Regions from separate parts of the Homo sapiens genome. Here region 1 is linked to region 2. The links are contacts of gene promoters, found by promoter capture Hi-C in blood cells and fetal thymus (Javierre and others, 2016). All regions are on one chromosome and are shown on one strand. The core of a region is centred on a gene start or on the middle of the fragment in contact, and the rest is flanking DNA. Distances in the headings are between cores, read along the strand shown. Region 1 overlaps ATG14 (autophagy related 14). Region 2 holds the start of MAPK1IP1L (mitogen-activated protein kinase 1 interacting protein 1 like).

Region 1 (2,955 bases), core at 180-2,679, 320 kb before region 2:
GAAAAGATAAACTTTTTTTTTTTTTTTTGAAACAAATTTAAACTTACAGAAAAATTACAAAAAAATAAAAATAGGACCAGGCATGGTGGCTCACACCTGTAATCCCAGCACTTTGGGAGGCTGAGGTGGGCGGATCACTTGAGTTCAGGAGTTTGAGACCAGCCCGGCCAACATGGGAAACTGCATCTCTACTAAAAGTACTGAAATTATCTGGGCGTGGTGGCGGGTGCCTGTAACCCCAGCTACTTGGGAGGCTGAGGCAGGAGAATCGCTTGAACCCAGGAGGCGGAGTTTGCAGTGAGCTGAGATCGTGCTGCTACACTCTGGCCTGGGAAACGGAGTGAGACTGCATCTCAAAATAAAAAAATAAGTAATAAAAATAGTACAGTCATATACACCCTTACCCAGATTGACCTATTAATATTTTGCCCATTGCTTATCCTTTGTGCAGTTTCTGTGTCCATCAATGCACACACTCCCACATATTTGAAATAGGATATATTATAAAAGTGACTTTTACAAAGCTAGAAAGATCCTTTTGTTGCCTTAATTGGTAGAATACCTCCCTGCAGCACCATGAGAAAATGAGTATTCCTGGTTCAGGGTCTTGAATAAAAAGATATCCATTATTCAGCTAAACTAAAAATTAGGAAACAATTTTATAATCTTAATTCCCCAAAGACATTAAGCAAAATAGGATGAATTATTTTGCTAGTTGGTTGTGTGTGCTGTGTCTCTAGCTTGGGGTCTGGCAGGCAGGTGATGTATCTCTAATCTAGAAGTGGGAGAGGCACTGGGTGGAGAAACATCGCAGGGGCCTCTCCTCCTGCTCTGTGGCTTCTCAGAAATGTAGGTTGATCATTGGAACCAAAATTGTTCCATACTGGCCCCTTGAGGAGTCTTCCATTCAGTCGCTTTTCATTGTACTTAGCTGAGCGCCTGCTCCGTGCCAGGTGGGTTTCTCCACGCAGAGAACCGGAGTCCACCGGGAACTTGGACATTTCCTCCTCTCTGTCCCTTCTGCCTGTCTCCTGGGAAAACTAAGACCCCAGGATTGGAGAAGGCAGCATCAAAGAAGAAAACAGGCTGAGCCTTGGAGGGAGGGAGGAAAGAAGGAAGGAGCTGTGGTAAAAAGGAAGGAAGGAAGGAAGGGAGCAGGGAGGAGCGAAGGAAGGAGCAAGCTGTGGAAAAAGCTGACTGGGGAAGAAAGGAAGGGAGGGAGGGAAGGAGGAAGGGAAGGAGTGAGGAAGAAAGGATGGAAAGAAGGGAGGGAGGGAGAAAGGGAAAGAAGGAAGGGAGGAGTGAGCTGTGGTAAAAAGCTGACTGGGACCTTTGGGGGATCCTGGGGAAGATGAGAGACTTAGCCTGGCAGTCAGTTCTGAGGTCCCCTAGACTGCACAGCTGAACAGAACAGAATCAGAGCATCTTTGGTTTAGTAAAGGAGGGAGCCCAGGGAAGGAATTTAAATTGTGAACTTTTTTAGTGGGTGCGTGCCAGGAGGAGAGAGGCAGCTCTCCAGCAAGAGGAGGCAGATGGGAAAGTGGTGGTGATATGGTGAGGACCTGGGCCAGGGTGACAAATTGAGAATGGAAAGGGGGCTTATTTAATGATAACAGGTAGCCCTGGTGACCCCAGACAGAGTGGGAGGTGGGAGGGGAGGAGTCCCAGCCAGCTAAAGTTTTGAGACTGGTTCAGATATGTGAGATGAGCCTGAGGGTTTAGTAACCAGAGGATATTTGGGAGTGGCGCTAGGAGAGGAATCGGAAAAGATGGCTCTAGAGTAGAACTGTTTGCCAAGGAAAAGAAAAAGGGGAGAAAAGAAATGAAGTGCAAGGAGAAACTTGAGAAGAGGGTGCTCAGAGCTAAAAACTGCAGTGGCCATTAGTTTGCTGGCAGAGAAATTCAAGGGGCAGTAGAAAGTCCTACTCCTTTCACCCTTGCAAAATACTGACTTCTGGGCAGGGTGGGGCCTAGTAAACTTGAGAGCACCCCTAGTCTGAGGGGCTCTTTGTTTTTTTGTTTGTTTTTTGAGACAGAGTCTCGCTCTGTCGCCCAGGCTAGAGTGCACTGGCGCCATCTCGGCTCACTGCAAGCTCCGCCTCTGGGGTTCACACCGTTCTCCTGCCTCAGCCTCCTGAGTAGCCGGGACTACAGGTGCCCGCCATCACACCCAGCTAATTTTTTGTATTTTTAGTAGAGACAGGGTTTCACTGTGTTAGCCAATGGTCTCGATCTCCTGACCTCGTGATCTGCCCGCCGCAGCCTCCCAAAGTGCTGGGATTACAGGTGTGAGCCACCGCGCCCGGCCTGAGGGGCTCTTGGAAAATGTAAATTGCTCACTGGAGACCAAGTGGGAAACCCCATGGCGTATCTTCCAATTTAATAAAGCCCTAAAAACAGTCCCTGGAGCATAAATGTTAGCTATTATTATTGCTTAATCCATCTGGGAAGCACAGGTGTCTGGGAGGAATGAGGGCTGCTTGCTTCTGTAAAAAGTGAGTCAACGGTGCAGACCTGGTGAGGTGCGTTGGAAGCCAGTGCTAGCCATTCATCATTGTGAAGGCTGTGGAGAATTTGGGACCATAGGCTGAAATGGCAAGCTATACGATTCTAGGCTCTCATTTCTGCCTGCTATTTATTTCGACCTCTCCTATTTTCCCCAAAGTCGTTATCAGTGAAACCCTTAAATGAACCAAGGCATCGTGTGCTTATCTTGGGGGCAGCAGCAGGGAGAGAGCGGCACCTTGGTCCCACCCTGTAGCTGGTTGCAGGGCAGTTCCCTGGAAGGCAGTGGGTGGGGGTGGCTGCCTACAGGGAGGACATGCAGCCTGGCTGCCCTGGAGCAGGAGCTGAGGGGCATTTGAAAGGGAGGGGAAAAAGAAGCAGAAAGGCGGCCGGGCGTGGTGGCTCACAACTGTAATCTCAGCGTTTTGAGAGGCAGGGGTGGGTGGATCA
Region 2 (3,317 bases), core at 85-2,584:
CTGCTGGGGGTGTTATCTCTCGTCTAACATGACTTTCTAAAAAGATGAAGATAAAATCCAAGTATTTTTGAATTCAAAACACACTAGCTTCAAAAGTTTCAGTTAAGAGACTGGGGATGGATTTTACCCATTCCGCCTGGAGTGAGGAAAAGAACATTCCAATATTTGCAATTCACTCCAAGTTTCTGAAGCAAACTCGCTTTGCATTGTGGGCTCAGAGATGCCAGCATGAAAAATTTCTATTCTTCCCCCAAAGAACACCAGTGAACAAAGAACTTATGAAATGTTTCTGAAGGCTACCTTTGCCTGTAATGAGGGTTCCTTTTCGAAACAGACCTTTACAACCCCCAGGTGTGTATTTCTCTAGTAGTAAAACTAAAAAAAATTCTTGCGGTCGAGTGAGCCTGGCTTCATGCTTTAACACTGGAATCTTTACCTATTAAAAGCTGTACTCTTGCTTTTCAAGGTAAAGAGGAAAACGGTCCAGCTATGCATACGCTATCGCAGGTATGTGCTCCTCAGTCCTAAAAAAGGAGATCACTGAATTCTGCCCTTCTCGTGGTTTGCCCTGGGTATTCATCTAATGTATCCGTGAGCAATTCCTCTAGTAAGTCATAACCAGAACGTTGTCACACTGCGGATTAACAAGCGCCCGAGACTCTTGTAAGAATCTTTTCAGGCCTTTCCCTTTTTATTAAAAATTAATGAATGAGTGTAATAGGGTGGGGGTAGAGGGGAAATCGGGGCCAAGGGGCGCGAGGCCGGCAGCCGTTTAGGGACGCACGAACAAAGGGAGTCCGGGATCAACCGGAGCGAACCGGCCTCCTAGCGGGTCGCGCCCGCCGGGAAGGGGTGGGGGAGGGGCCGGCCCGCGCCCGCCCCGCCCCGCAGCCAGACCTGACGTCAGGCGCCCAGAAACCCGTCGGGCGCGACGTCAGCGGCCTCCGACACCTTCTCCCTGGGGGGCGATCCCCAGGCAGCCCGCAGCGTGGAGGAAGGCGACCGATAGAAACGCTTAGTCCTGGTGCCAGGCAGGCGACCACGGCCCGAGCACTGGACGTGACTCGATGCACCTCGGTCACCGCGCCCGCTTCCCGCTTGGCCGCGCCCGCGGGCTCCGCAACCCCAGCTCCCCGATTCCCCTTCACGACTCCCACTAGTACCGAAGCAGCCTCACCCGGCAATATCCGAGACCGCAGTAGGGTCTAGAAGCGGCGATGGGTCCGAGGGACTGGGCCCTGAAGACGCGGGCGCAGCCTGACTGACGGCAGCTAGAGCAGCGGCGGCAACAGCACCAGCAGCGCGCGGCTCCTCCTGGCGCCGGAACAGGAAGCGCCGAGCGCACCGCCTCCGCCCGTTCTCCCCCTCCCCTCAGGCCGCGCCGCGTGCGCCTCCCGCAGGCCCCTGGCGGTACTGCGGCCCGCCAGGCCTAGGGGGATGGGCTCCACCTGGCGCCGGCTCCGGGCCGCTTTCCCCTGGTGGGCGGGCTAAAAGCTCCCAGAGTTTCCGGAGTTCCGAGGACTCGGAGGAAACGCCAGTGGCTGCCGATGTTCACGGCTTCCCGGCGGAAATTGCTAACTTGTCTTGAGTTGCTTGAGGGCTGATTCTGGATTCCTTTTGCTCAGCGGTTTTTACAGCTAGGCCTCGAAGGAGGCTGGGTATGGACGCGGTCTGATTTCGGCCTGACCCGAGGACTCAGATCCTCGGGCCAAAAGTGGGGAGAGGGAAAATATTAATACAGGAAAGGGAAGACGTTTGCAAATAGCTTGACAAATTGATATTTGCTTTCTTTGTAGATTTTTCCTCATCAATGCCTCTTCTCCCATGTTCTTTTTTGTTGTTTTTGAGACAGGGCCTCTGTCACACACGCTGGAGTGCAGTGGCGCGATCTCGGCTCACTGCAACCTCTGCCTGCTGGTCTCAAGCAATCCTCCCATCTTAGCCTCCGAGTAGCTGAGACTGCAGGCATGTGCCACCACATCCGGCTTATTTTTGTGTTTTTGATAGAGATGGGGTCTCACCCTGCTAGCCTCAAGCGATCTGCCCGCTTCGGCCTCCCAAAGAGCTGGTATTACAGGTGTGAGCCACCGTGCCCAGCCGCCATCTTCATTTCTGAATAAACATTACCTCCTGTGTCAGGCACAGATGACATGACCCCAGTCAAGGAACCTACTAACTAGCAATAAAGATGTCGTGATAATTATATGGTGTGCAAAATATATACATATATGCAATATACTTTTTTTTTTTTTTTGAGACGGAGTCTTGCTCTGTCGCCAGGCTGGAGTGCAGTGGCGCGGTGCGATCTCGGCTCACTGCAACCTCCGCCTCCCGGGTTCAAGCGATTCTCCTGCCTCAGCCTCCCAAGTAGCCGGAACTACAGGCGCGCGCTACCTTGCCCAGCTAATTTTTGTATTTAGAGACGAGGTTTCACCACGTTGGCCAGGATGGTCTCGATCTCTTGATCTTGTGATCCGCCCTCCTCGGCAAAGTGCTGGGATTACAGGCGTGAGCCACTGTGCCCGGCCAATATACATTTTTTAAGATATAAAAATATCCTAAAAGTATGTGGTACACTTGCATCTTGCTTTGTGTAAGGCATTAGTGAGTGAGTGGGTGGCCATTTAACCATGAACTTGTTTAAAGGAAGACATCCCTGGATGTTTTCCACAGCACACACAATTCTCACACTGAAAAAGGGGCAACAGAGGAACTTCAAATACCTAAGCCGAGAGTCTTATTTTTGGGTAAGGGCACACAGGCCTATGGAAAATTACACGACTGGTGTGGACCTAGCCTGTTCTCACTGGTGACAGTGAATCAGCAGTGCCTTGAGCCATGCTGAAACCTGAAGCAACAAGAAATCAGTAATCTGGTCAGGTTTGATTTGAAATTTGGTATCTTGCTCATCATAGGCTTTTTTGCATCAATTCAGATATTACAATATTGTACCAAAACATTGTCTTCCTTAGTCGTATAGTCAAATATTTGTCCCTAAGTGCCTCACCATACCCTAGTCCTGGCGCTGTGTACCAGTAATGGATAGCCTCCAACTTTTCCTTGCCTGCAATCAGCCAGTAGCTGAGCACGTTGGAGGGGTCTAGATCTAGGCCATTCCTGTCCCTGTGGGCTTCTCTACAGGCAACCTTTGCTTGGGAACCAAGTCCTCATCTAGCAGTCTCAAGATGCACTGAAGTCCGAAGCTCCCCTACCCAATCCTTCCTTCTAGGTGTCAGACTTTCTGTGTGGTATGAAGAATTCCCCACCTTCTGCTCCCTTCTCTATCTTTCTAGGTGTTTCACTCCAAATAAATCTCT

The links. The method cuts DNA at HindIII sites, captures the fragments that hold promoters and counts their contacts. A CHiCAGO score of 5 or more calls a contact.
Region 1: a fragment that was not itself captured here is called in contact with the fragment with the promoter of MAPK1IP1L in region 2 in 1 of 17 cell types (naive CD4 T cells); the score reaches 5.5 in naive CD4 T cells.

The regions. Positions count from the first base shown.
Region 1 is chr14:55,370,878-55,373,832 of GRCh38, reverse strand. The region is part of intron 9 of ATG14 (autophagy related 14); the gene reads left to right. It also overlaps a transcript of FBXO34 not described here. Among named protein-coding and RNA genes, the nearest start is that of ATG14, 39 kb to the left of the region's middle. The HindIII fragment of the contact is 5,534 bases long and covers 1-2,955 here.
Region 2 is chr14:55,049,664-55,052,980 of GRCh38, reverse strand. MAPK1IP1L (mitogen-activated protein kinase 1 interacting protein 1 like) reads right to left here and starts at 1,334. Exons shown (of 4, transcript NM_144578.4): 1 at 1,178-1,334. RefSeq lists silencers at 764-923, 1,274-1,513 and enhancers at 1,544-1,743, 1,283-1,972. The HindIII fragment of the contact is 10,117 bases long and covers 1-3,317 here.